Regions from separate parts of the Homo sapiens genome. Here region 1 is linked to region 2. The links are contacts of gene promoters, found by promoter capture Hi-C in human tissues and cell types (Jung and others, 2019). All regions are on one chromosome and are shown on one strand. Each heading gives the region's core, a stretch centred on a gene start or on the middle of the fragment in contact. The rest is flanking DNA. Distances are from core to core; before and after follow the strand shown. Region 1 overlaps CDH22 (cadherin 22). Region 2 holds the start of CDH22 (cadherin 22).

What was found. Contacts are between HindIII fragments. The study calls those that stand out against the background at their distance.
Region 1: a contact is called between a fragment that was not itself captured here and the fragment with the promoter of CDH22 in region 2, in 10 of the 25 tissues and cell types used here (H1 embryonic stem cells, adrenal gland, aorta and 7 more).

Annotation. Positions count from the first base shown.
Region 1 is chr20:46,220,760-46,227,709 of GRCh38, forward strand. CDH22 (cadherin 22) reads right to left here. Exons shown (of 12, transcript NM_021248.3): 4 at 6,749-6,868. Among named protein-coding and RNA genes, the nearest start is that of CDH22, 84 kb to the right of the region's middle. The HindIII fragment of the contact is 3,632 bases long and covers 437-4,068 here.
Region 2 is chr20:46,304,198-46,310,318 of GRCh38, forward strand. It overlaps CDH22 (cadherin 22), which reads right to left and starts at 4,301. Exons shown (of 12, transcript NM_021248.3): 1 at 4,058-4,301. The HindIII fragment of the contact is 29,361 bases long and covers 1-6,121 here.

The sequences.
Region 1 (6,950 bases), core at 1,003-3,502, 85 kb before region 2:
CTTGGAAACTGGTCCTGAAGCCTTGTGGTGTGTAGGATTCAGGTGCCATCTCTGGGTGTGTGTGAGTTGGGCCCCCTGGGCCTTGTTCTCGGGATCCAGGGAACAGGGTAGGTTGCTATGGTGACAGTGCCCAGTGAACCACACCTTCCGGTATCCACGCCCTTGGGTCATTCCCTCCCACACTGACTCTGGCCAATGGGACATCAGCAAGTGTGCTTTGGCCAATAGGACATCAGCAAGTGTGACAAAAGCAGAGGTTTGATAAGCCCCTGTATGCTGCGGCCTGTCCTCTTGGAATCCTGAGACCATTGTACTGTGAAGAAGCCCAGGATAAAAGGCCACATGGAGAGGGAGGCCTAGTCCTGCCAGCTGTCCCAGTGAAGTCACTCCCAGCGACCCGACAGCTGACTGTTGCTGCATGAGTGACCCCAGCAAAATAACTGCCAAGCTGACACACCAAATTGTGACAAATAATAAATTATTGTTGCTTTAAGCTACCAGGTTTTGGGTTTTTTTTTTTCTTTTTTTTTTTTTTTTACATAGCTCTAGATGACTGATAGAGAAATCCAGTTGGCTGGGCCATTCCTCTGCTGATTTTGTCTGGGCTTACTCACGCATCTGAGCCTAAACCGGAGGAGCAGCTGACTGGAAGGTCCAAGATGGCTCATTTACATGTCTGGCAGTTGGTCTTGGCTGTCGGCGGGGACACATTGGTTCTTTCATCCTCCAGTAGGCTGGCTTCCTTACATAGCAGTCTCAGGACTGTGTTCCAGGACAGTAAACGTGAAAGCTGCAAGGTCTCTTAAGGCCTAATGTCAGAATTTGCATAACATCACTTCTGCCACATTCTATTGGCCAAAGTAGTCCCAGGCGAACCCAGGTTCAAGGGGTAGGGAAACAGACTCCACCTCTTGCCCAGAACAGTGGCAAAGTCACATTAGTAAGCAGCCGTGTGCAGGGCGGGGAGGAATTGATAACATATTTTCCTATCTACTATGTTCCACTCCACTGTCTTCCTCCTGATGTTGGGAGAAGCACGGTGGAGACTATTGCCCTCTGAGAGATCTAGGGGTACAAATATTCCAAAACAGTCCATGAAGTTGTTCTTGAAAGCTTCTGGCTCTTTGACTTCATCCGTTCACTCATTCATTCATTACAGTCTTGCCGAGGGCCTACTACAGGTGCTGGGGCTGCACAGACTCAGATAGGCTGCAGGAGGACTCTGGGGCCAGACAGATATGGGCTCAAGTCTTCTTTCCACCATTTACATGCTAGCTGACCATGGGCAAGTTCCTGGGCCTCTCTGAGCCTCTGTTTCCTCTTATGTGAAATGGAGACACCCACCTGGTAGGGCTGTTGAGAGGACTGAATGAGAGGAAGCTTCCAGCAGCAGGCCTCACATTTTGGAGATGCCTTGCTGATCTCTTTCCTCAAGTTCTGGATTGAGTACCTCCATAAACAAGTTTCACAGAGGCAGAAATCCATGCTGGTCTTGTTCATCCCGTGTCTATAGGGCCTGGCACACAGCAAGTGCTCAAATGACGTTTTGACTGGCTGACTCCCAGTGCCCCTCCACTGCCCCTCTCACAGCCTGGGTGTAGCTATCCATTTGCTTCTCTGCTGGAGCAGAAGCTCCGTGAGGGCAGAAACCAGGTCTACTTCATTATCCTGACCCCAGGATCTGGCACTTAGAAGGTGCTCAACAAATGTTAGTTTCATTCCCTCCCTGTAAAATGGATGACTCTGGCTCAGTTGACAATTTTCAGCAGAGATCTTGAAATCTCGGAGAACATTTCTATTCCTGCTGGGGTGGTGGTGGGCGGGGGCTGGTAATTATAACCTGGCCTCAGCTCCCGCAGCCTTGTCTTCACCCATCGTCCCCAGTTCCAGCTGTTGTCCTGGCCTCCCCTGCTGTCCCCTCCAAATGCTGCAAAAGGGGCCCTGGAGCCCGTGTGATGCCTCATTAGCACACAAATGCCATCCCTGTCGCCCCTGTGGGGGGCCTGCTGGCAGGCCTGGCCTTTAAAACACACAAGTTAATTCCTCCTCTGGCATTGGGGCCTCGCGGCGCCCCGCCTCCTCCCTTCCCTCACACCTTCCTCCCAGGCCCCGTTCCGGCTCTGCTCCCTGCTATCTGCACAGCAAGAACAGACTGTACCTCGCAGCAGCTGCTAAATATAGACCCGCATCAGCAGAATATTCCTGGCTGGGGAACTAGAGCTGGGGCTGGGAATGGCACCAGGGCAGCTCTTGCCATGGGGCTGTGGGCAAGGGGAGGCAAAACCTGGTTCTTCCTGGGACGTGCCAGAAAGGACCCTTTCAGATTGAAGAGTTGAGGGGCTCTGGAGCAGGGACCCCATTTGAACTCCTTCAACTGCCTTGCCTGGTCCTCACTTTCTGACCTCTTGGGAACTGTTCTGCTCCCCCAGGCCCGGTGGCCTCCCAGTTGTCACCATCTTCTGGGCCCTCTGCTGCGGGGGATGCTGTTTCTTAGAAACTGGCTGTCCTTCCCACTCTCATGTCCTCCCCACTCTCTGATCCTTCATCTGCCCAGCCCTGCCACCTCCCAAGACTCAGTCTTGGCCCTTCTCTTATTTCTATGTTCTTTCTTCTCCCCATCTCCCCAAGGCTTATCAACCCTAGGGTCCCCACCTCCTCAGGCTGAATGCATGAAGGCTTCCTCATCACCATCACTATCCTTTTGTGCTGGGGCTCAGGCTGAGCACTTTACATACTTCCTGTTCCCTTGGCCTGCAGTGTTGGTCCCCAGAAATCTGCATGGCTCATACCTTCACTGCACTTGGTCTCTGCCCCAAGGTCACTTCCCCAGAAAGGCCTGTTGTGATTTCTTTCTTTTTCTTTCTTTCTTTTTTCTTTCTTTCTTTCTTTCTCTTTCTTTTTCTTTCCTTCTTTCTTTCTTTCTTTCTTTCTTTCTTTCTTTCTTTCTTTCTTTCTTTTTCTTTCTTTCTCTTTCTTTCTTTCTCTTTCCTCTTTCTTTTTCTTTCTTTCTTTCTTTCCTCTCTTTCTTTTTCTTTCTTTCTTCTTCCTTTCTTCCTTTCTTCCTTCCTTCCTTCCTTCCTTCCTTCCTTCCTTCTTTCTTTCTTTTCTTTTTGAGATGGAGTCTTGCTCTGTCACTCAGGCTGGAGTGCAGTGGTGCGATCTTGGCTCACTGCAACCTCTGCCTCCTGGGTTCAGGCAATTCTCCTGCCTCAACCTCCCGAGTAGCTGGGATTACAGGCATGTGCCACCACTCCCGGCTAATTTTTGTATTTTAGTAGAGATCGGGTTTCACCATGTTGGCCAGGCTGGTGTCAAACTCCTGGCCTCAAGTGATCCACCCGCTTCGGCCTCCCAAAGTGTTGGGATTACAGGCATGAGTCACCATGCCTGGCTGTGAAGTCTTAATCTAAGTCCTTCCTCTGCATTAGGTTTCGTCCTCACACTCGTCACTGCTTGACGTTATGTTATATGTGTACATGCTCATCTTCTATATTCTCTACTTCAATAAAAGTGCCATGAATGCAGAGCCTTAGATTTGCCTACTGAAGCATTCCTAGTGCCTAGCACAGAGCCAGGCACATAATAGGCACTCAATAAATAGTGGTTGAATGAATGAGTGAACTGTCCCATTGAATCCTCACGACCATCAAGTGAGATGGGTATGATTCTCTCCCCTGTGCACATGGGGAAACTGAAGCTTTAAGAGACCCAACCATTCTTGGAGCTCCACACCTGTATTTCACATGGCCTGCTAGAAGTTCTAGGTGTTTCTTTCCCTGTTTTCGCTCATCTTAAAGCCAATATGGTTAAAGCTGAATTTTTTAGCTCTGCATCAGATTCCAGGGCACATTCACTCATTCCTCTGCTCTAGTAGCTTTCTTAATTTACACTCCTCCTGTTTCTGTTGATGGTACCCCTTGCCTAGATGAATAAATCCTACTACATGGAAAGAAACTCTGCCTCCTCCCCCAACCTAGTCCTGCAGATTCGTGTTGGCCCCCAAGGTTTGTCCTTGGCAGGATCTCACTGCCACCCCCTATTCTCTCTTCTCGGCATCTCAATCAATCCTCACTATGAATTCTTCATCATCCCTGGCCTCCTAGCTAGACAGGTAGGTTAAGGAGTCTGAGTGACTGTCAAGAAAGGGCGCAGGCTTTTGGTTTTTGCCATTTGGGACTCTATGCTGGGCATCCTGGGCTCCAGGGCCTCCCTGCCTCTAATTCCTGCCTCTGAGCCAAGCTCTGTAGCAGCAGCCCAAGGGATCTTGTTAAAATTAAAACCAGAGCATGTCATTTCCTTGCTTAGTAGTCATCAGTGAACCTGCACTGTAGGTGAGGAGGAGGGGAAATGGATACTCTCACACGTGGCTCACGGGAGTGTCGTCTGGTACATTTCGGCATTATCTATCGAGATTCCGAATGCATGTGCTCTTTGACCAAGCTTCTCCACTTCCTGAAAATTATCCTGCAGATATACTCACACAAGCACAAAATGATGTATGTGTGAGGTTATTCACTGTAGCATTGTTTGTTGTAGCAAAAGATTGGAAACAGCATAAGTGTCCATCGGCAGGGGACTGGTGAAATAAATTTTAGTGTATCCATAACACCCATTAAATAAGAGAAAGAGGAAGCCCTTTATGTACTCATATGGAATAATCTTCAAAATGTATTGTTAAGTGAAAAAGGCAAGCCGTGTGTATAGTGTGTTTATAGCTACCATTCATGTAAAAAAAATAAATACATGTACCTTATTTTCTTGTACATGTACAGAATAGCTCTGGAAGATGCATGAGAAAATTACATTGGTTGCCTTGGGGATACAGACTAGGTGGCTGGGGGACTGGATGGGGTGAAGAATTGCTACTAAATTCCTGTTTGGACTTTTTGAATTTTGAACCTTGAGATGTATTATCTATTAAATGTGAGTTAATATTTTCGAGTGAATGAGTCTAAGATCTCATAGGATGTATACACCAAGTGGCTACCTTTGGGGCTGCAATTACTGGTGATAGGGAGTGGGAAGCGTTTCTTTTTTTTTTCTTTTTAGCATTTCTTTAATGTTTGAATGTTTTATAAAATGTATTACTTTTTTGGGGAGAAAAAATAATGAAGATACTTTGTGTGAGAAAATACAATTACAACTGTGCTCATGGATTGGAATCCTCTCCCTTCTCCCCCAGACAAAGGAAACAGACAAACAAAAACCCAAAACCCAAATCCATCAACTCCCCCCAACCCCACTTCCCAGCTTTGCCCTTAGAATGAAATCCAAGCTCCTTAGCCTGGCTCACACCAGCACAGTCAGGCCCCTGCCACCCTCTCGACGTCACCTCTCAACAAACCTGATTGCCGAAGCCTGAGCTGCTTACAATTCCCCTCATGCCCCAGGCTGTTCCACTTCTCCCAACTTTTGCCTGAGCCATACCCTGTACCTGGAATGCCCTTCTCTGAAATCTTGGTCTGGCAACACCTTCTTCTTCTTCTTCTTCTTCTTCTTCTTCTTCTTCTTCTTCTTCTTCTTCTTCTTCTTCTTTTTTTTTTTGAGACAGGGTCTTGCTCTGTTGCTCAGGCTAGAGTGTGATGGTGCCATCATAGCTCACTGCAGCCTCGACCTCCTGGGCTCAAGCAATCATCCCACCTCAGCCTCCTGAGTAGCTGGGACTAGAGGCACCTGTCACTATGCCTAGCTAATTTTTTCTTTTGTAGAGATGGGTTCTCTCTGTGTTACCCAGGCTGGTCTCAAACTCCTGAACTCAAGCAATCCTCCCACCTTGGCCTCCCAAAGTCCTGGGATCACAGGGGTGAGCCACTGCACCCGCAGACACTTTCTTATCCTTTGTAGATTGCTGCTACTTCCTCCGAGAAGCCTTGCATCCTAATCCCTACATATCTGCCTATCCTCCTGCCCCACAGGGCTGTGAGCCTCACAATGGCATTTGATAAACATTCTGTGCTGTCTGACATCTCATTCCCCGCCTTCACCCAAGCCAGGCCCCTCCTATCCCAGGAGCAGTGAGAGCACCCCGCTGGAATTGGCAGCCACTCCCAGCTGTGTGACCTCAAGTGAGTCACTTCACCTCTCTGGTCTTCAGTCTTCTCATCCTGTCCTCCTCGCACTCCCCCAAGGCTTCTCAGAGATTAGTCAGGTTCTAATGTCACCGTGAGTGAAGTGGGGACAGCGGGTGGGCGTGCTGCACCATCGTTTGGTGGTGTTGAGGGGATAAGCAAGAAAGAAGCCACTCTTCCTTAAAGGTCTCTGTGTCTTAGACACCTTTCCTTAAAGATGCTTGTGTTTTTCCATCAGGTCCTTAACAACTGCCATGTGGGCAGAGCTCTCAAAACTGCTGAAACCAGCCGTCCTCCCTTCCCCAAACTACACTTGTGACCCCGGAAGAGCTCAAACGCCTGCTTCAACTTAGCTCCAAGGACAAGCCGCTTAGTTCGGACCTTTAAGGTCCTTTTAGGGCACCCACAGCGGCTGCTTCCTGCCTTTCGGTTTCTCTTCCAGTTTTGGAAGAACCCCCCACCCCATTCCTTTTCTGTTCCTCAGTCCGTCCATCTTCCTGCCTGGCTGCCCCTCCCTCTCCGCGACCCTGGACTCTCCTGCTGTGCACAAGGTGCCCCCTGTGCTGTCCTCAGAGCTTCTGGGACAGAAGGCTCAGAGCAGACGTCTGGGGTGGTCCTCGTCCCGCCCCGCCCCTGGCCCCGCCCCACGGCTCCGCCTCTGGCCCCGCCCTGCCCCTCACCGGTCTTGGGGTCCACGGTGAAGTGGTGCTCGCCGTCCAGCACGCTGTACACCAGCCGAGCGCTGCTGCCGTACGTGGGGTCATCCGCATCCGAGGCCATCACCTGCATCACCGACGTGCCTGGGCCCGGGGGACCAAGCGAGACAGGGGTCATCTGGGGCTGCGGAGCTCGTTCCCCCACTTCGCCTCACCCCAGGGAAGC
Region 2 (6,121 bases), core at 3,051-5,550:
AGGGGTGCAGGCAGCTGAGATCATGTGCAAAACCAAACAAGGAGGAACTGCTGCATTTACCCCATGGGAACCAAGGAATATAAATGGAGGGATATGAGCAATAACAATACTGCTTTATGTATGGGGTGTCCTATGTGCCAGGCATTGTGCTCAGCACCATACATGCTCATGCACATTTGATCTTCACAACCCAATGAGACAGGTATTACATTTTCCTCCATTTCACAGAGGAAGAAACTAAGGCTCAGAGAGGTAAAGTAACTTGCCAGCAAGTCACAAACTCAGGCTGGTTGGACTCCAATGCCTACGCGCTTAATCATCTATTTATATTATGCACAGGAAAGAGCTGGTAACAAGTGGATGGCTGAAGGCTTGTGGGTCTGACGACAAAGCAAGAAGTTCCCAGCCTAATCCCAATGTGACAGCAGGAAGGAGCCTGCTGATGGGGCATGGAGGGAAATGTGGGGGAAGAAGGGAATTCCTCCAGGTTGCTGTACCTCATGTGTTTGAAATCAGACCCACATATTCGGAAAGGTGTGTGCCCATTGTAAGAGAGCTGAGCTAAGGAGTGAGTAGTGAATATATCCTTAACCCCCAGATGGGCCACCTTTGGAGTAATTAAAGAAAGGGATCCTTTTCTGGGGGTAAGCAGCCCCATAGGCCCATGGCTGGTAAGTATATGAAGCCTTTTTGCAAATTAGAGAAAGATGCCCCCTCCTCCAGGCAGGCACAGCCTGTCTTTGGGGCACCTGACTTGGAGAGTGGAGCTTAAAATAGATTTCAGTCCCCGCTCTCCTCCTGCATTAAATGCCCTTGGACAGTCAACAACCTGCCCAACTGCATATAACAGCCATGCCTCCAGCCTTCCTGTCCTGCACCTCTGTTTCCAAGCAGCCACTGTGTATCATCAACAATGAGAAAACGTCCCTCCTGCCAGATACACAGAGCTCAAATCACTCCACAGACAACTTTCTTGTTAGGCCTTGTCTCCTCCATGGGCGGAAAGACAGTCCTATCATGCCCACTGCCCTGATGAAAAGTTGAGGTCAGAGCCTGTCCTCGTGGTGAAATATCTAGGCTTTCTCTAGAGAGGCCAGAATCAAAACACAAGGTTGTAGGAAGGAGAGGCCTGAGTTGAGAGCTCCATCTTAAAGGTGCTTTGAGGAACCCGGGGTGGAGGGTGTGCCCACTCTTGCGGGGGGCATGAGGCTTTTCTCTCTGAGCCTGACCTGAGGCCTGGGTTTCCTCTCAGCCTGTTTCCCCACCTGGTCCCCAGCCCCTAGCACCCTTCCTGGCTCAGCTATGGGGAGGAATGAGGAAGTCCTTGGCCCCGGGGCCTCAGCCCAGACACCACCGTAGGGTCTTCTATTCCCTCACTCCCTCCCAGGCCATGCAGTGCCAGCTGCTACCCGTGTTATATAAACAGAAATCATTCACTCTCTCTCACTCTACCTGAGGCTGCATTTCAGATTGGAGCTTCCTGATGGAAGAAAAAGGGGAGGGGGAAGAACAGAGAGAGAGAGGAGAGGAAGTTTAATTGGCTGACTCTTATCGCCCATGTGGTAAATAAACTGGCTGCTCCGAACTTTGCCAACTCGGGAGGAGACGGGCCCTCCTGGGCTCCCTGCCTTAGCTATGGCCCGGCCCCCTGTCAGACAACTTCAGAATGCAGCGCTCCTGCAAAGCTCTCAGAAAGACCAGTGCCTGGGGAAGCAGCAGGGGCTTTGGGGGTTCCAACCTCTAGGTATGATTATTCCAGAGCACGACCAGAAACATCCAGAGATCACAGCCACCCTTTTGACAGAAAGGCTGTGACTCACCCGGAGGTCACAACACACTTTTAGGGGCCAAACTTTGTCCTCTGCTTCTGCTACTCGGCGTCTCTGCTAAAGGCATTCAACAGCTTTCCTCCGGCACTGGCCTGGGAGCACTGGGGGTCTAACTTGAACACCTCATGCTGAATTTAGAGCAAGTGTCTTCTTGTCCTGCCTGCAGCGTGAAGCCAAGAAACGGCTCTGTTTTGCCCCAGGCCTACCCAACACATAAGCAGCGTTGGTGAGGCCTGGATGTCAAGATGCCTGGGTTCCTATTCCGGCTCTGGGTATAGCTTACCATGTGACCTCGGGCTGCTGTTGCCAATCCTTGAAAATGGAAAAGAGGGCAGCCCAGGTGGTCTCCAATGTGCTGCTCACAGTTAGGAATAGGGAAAGGGGTTGTCTCCAGGGGTCCCCTGATGGGGCCACCCAAGAGGTACAGGTGCCCCTTAGCTGAGAGAGACCTGGCTGGCTTTATAAAGTACCTGCCCCCGAGGCACTGGCAGTGGTGGACCGGGAAGGGCACACAGACATCTCCAGGAAGCAGTGTTTAAATGTTGGCAATGCCCTTCCCTTCCAGGAGGAATGGAAGAGGAGTGTCCCAGACACTGGGACAAGGAGGGAAATAAGGGTGAAGTAGAGAAATGGCTGGGGCAGGGAACAGTTGAGTGCTACAGAAAAACTGAGGCAGACAGGATAGAAGATGGGTCGGGGTTGGGGGGGACGAGGAAATGGTCATTGGTGGGCAAAGACCAAAGGATGTCACTATGGGTGTAGAGGCCAAGTTTCAACAAGGGCTGTAGACTAGGGGCAACTGAGGGGGACGGAGTGGGCACTGATGGACACATATACGGGATACAAATGAAGGACAGAGAGTCGCGGTGGTTAGGGAGGAGCCTTTGGGCCCTAGGGCAGTGGTGATGCTGATATAGGGTATTGGCGCTGACCAGTGGGAGAAGAGGATGAGATCCTGAACCTGGGTGGAGAGGGAGAGAGAGCTGGCAACAGCCAAAGCCCTCAAATGAGCCGCTGCCTGTGCTGGGGGCACCTCGGCCAGCCCCAGAAACCTGGGGAGTGCTGGAATCAGCCCCACGGAAAAAGAAGCTGGCATGCGCAACCCTGGCGACGCCCGAAGGGTTTGGAGAGAAGAGGTTCCAAGGAGCGAGCACCTCGGAAGACCTGAGCAGCTTCAAACAGCAGCTTCTCTGCCCGCCACAAGGGGGTGCCCTGCACCTCGGGGAGACCTCGGGGGATCCTGGATCAGCCCTACCCTCTGCAGCCCCGCCTGGGACAGGGCCCGACGTTGCCAGAGAAGAGGCAGCGGGGAGGCGCGAGCGAGACGGGTCCACACTGTGCCCACCCAGGGCTGCCCGGCACCCCGCGCGCCCACGCAGTCCACTCTTCACAGTAAACGCCGCGGCCCCCGAGGGTTAGCCCTAAGTGGCGCTCTCTTTGGACGTTAGGCTGTCGGGGGCCCCGTCCTTCTTCCCCAGCGGGGACGGTGTCTCCGGAGTCGGGTCCTAAGGAAGAGAGCAGCGCTGGCTCTCGCTCACCGCCAGCCCGCCCGACGGCCATAGGGCAGGGGGGGTCGCGCCGGTGGGGCCGGCAGGGGTCCCTGTGGGCCGCCTCCCCGGCTCAGAGGGGACCAGAACCGTGCGTGTCGCCGCGGCTGGAGTCAGCCTCCGGGTGTCCCCGGACGCGGCACGACCTCGCACACACACACCGCGCGCACACGCTCGCGCCGTGCGGTATTTTCCCGGCCCCGGACCCCGCCTCTGGGAGGGGCCGGGGAGCCGAGCCCCGCTAGCAGGGTTGGGGGACCGGGAACGCCTGGGTCCCAGCCCTCGCGTCAGGGCTGTGCGCCACCTTCCCAGCCCCTTTTGGCGCGCCGGCTCGGCCCCTGGCGCTGCCACCCCTCGGCCCGCGGGGGTCCCGGAGGCTCCCGGGCGCGCGGCGGACGAGGTTGTGGGGACGGGTGGGAGCTGCGGGCTTCGGGCCGAGAGGCGGCTCGGCTCCGCGCCGGGGAAAGTTTGGACGTGGGAAACTCCCTCCCCGCCCTCCCGGCCGAGAGGAGGGGGCGCGCAGGGCCGGGCGCAGGCACCCCGGCTCCTCCTGCGGCTGGAGGCTCGCCCCCCGCGCCGCCTGCCCGGCCGCTCCCGCCGGCCAGGGGGCTCCCTCCCTGCCGGGCAGCCTCCCCTCGGCGGCGATCCGGCCGCTCCTCCCGCGGCACCCCGCGCTCTTACCTCGGGGAGCGGCCCGGGGCTCCCCCTAGTCCTGCCGCCTCGGGACGCTGCGTGGGGCGGGAGCCCCGGCGCGGGCAGCGGGCGAGTCCGGAGCCCCGCGGCCGCCCGCAGGAGCCGGAGGGAGAGCGGGAGCGAGAGGGGGAGCCGCGGCGGCGTGTGCGCGCGTGTGTGTGAGCGAGAGAGCGAGAGAGCGAGAGAGCGAGGGAGTGAGCGAGCGAGCGGGAGCGAGGGAGTGTGCGTGTCTGACTGGGGGGAAGTGTGCAAGGGACGGATCCCTTCCTTCCTCCCGCAGCCTCTGGTGGAGACTCGGAGAATGCAGGGCCCGCCGGGCAGGAGCCGCGCAGCGCCAAGCCGCAGGCGGCCGCCGGCCCGGACCCCCGCAGCCGGGGAACCCCAGCCCCCGCCCCCCGGATCGCGCCCCTCCTACACCAGGAGGGGACAGCCTTTCCCTCTCTCGGGCGGCCCAGTCCCAGGAAACCCCCCAGGGGACAGTGCCCCTCCCTCCTCCAACCCCAGATCCGCGCGAAGGGAGCGCCCCCAGGAGGGGGACCATCTACCTCCTCGCCTGGCAGCTCCCCAGGTGGCCGCAGTTTGAGACCAGAGCCTATTTCCCCACCTGATTTTACTGCGAATAGGGCTTCCCATTTCCGCCCCCTGACTACTGCGGGAGGCCGCCTTCAGAGGAGCAGGGGCGCAGGCCAGGGTAGGAGCAGGCTTCTCGAACAGTGGCCGCCCCGGCTTGCTGCCCAGAAAGGCACCTTGCACAGACCAGATCTGCCAGTTCAGAAACAGTCACTGTGCATTGAGGTGGACACCGACCAGGTGCCCAGGGCTGAGTCTCCAGGCAGGTGGGAGGTCGGGTGTCCCCGGGAGAGAAACTTGTGGGCTTTTCCTCTGGAGAGTCCCGCTGGACATCCTTGCAACCAACAAAGTAAGCAGGCAAAACAAGACACCTCCATCCTTAACTTGGTGCCACCTTGACCTGGAGAAGTCTCCCAATAAAATCTTCCCACTGCCCAGAAACTCCTTGCTGGTTGGGTTTTCCGTTCTTTTAAAAATCCGGCTGGTCTGCTCCCTGATGTTTTTTCCACCTGGCCCTGTTTCTTTCTCCTGGCTGCCTGGCTCTCCTTACTACTTCATCTCTCTGGGATGAGGCCTAATGGAGGAGACCCTCCCACCCCACTCCTGAGTTCCCAATATGAGGTCGTTGATGGTAGGATAGGACCAGTGACTCCCATAGACCCACCCTTTGTCTTGGGTTGTAGGTCCCCTTAGGAGTTGCCCGCCCCCCTATTCCCCATGGCTTCCAGATAGGTGAGTGAAGGATAACAGGAGACTGGACAGCTGCAGACCTCTGTCCCGCCAAGCTGCCAATGACCAGCCATTTAATCACCCACAAGCAGCTGCTGAAGTTCATGGCAAAGAGGGGGCAGGGCCCTCCAGGACCCCCAGCTCTACCTCGCCCCTATCCTTCTCTCCTCCTCGCCTCCTTCCCCAATTTCCATCTCCATCTCCACACCCTAGTCCGTCTTGCTGATGATTGGAATCACCTCTCCTGCTGGCTGCCCCTCTGGCCCCTCCTACTAAACTCCATCATTCATTTATTTATTTTGAGATGTATTCTCCACTGTGCCAGTCTGTTCCCTCCCCTACGTCCTTCTCTTGGTTTATTTCCCTTCATTGATCTCTTCCAGCCTTGCCTTTCTATCGCCTTCCTTTTCTCCATCTCTCTCTTCCCCTCTCCTCTCTATTCTTAGCCTCCACTCTTTCATGCTTTCAGAGACCAGAGGCCAGCCTTCCAGGTGCATCTCTTCACTTTTGGTTCTCTCCTCCCGCTCTGACTCACTTTTGCTGTTTGCTCCAGTTCCCATTCCTTCTTTGCCTCTTCCTCCAGGCTCTGGTGTGTGCTGTTCATCTCTGGAGTCAGACCTACTTAGTTGTCCACAGGTTGTTTTGGTCTGGGACACTGTTGCTGTCACATCTGCATGCACACAGTAGGTGCTCAATAAATGTTATTGAATGAACTGTTGTCACATCTTTCTCTTTTGCTCTGGTCTCTCTCTT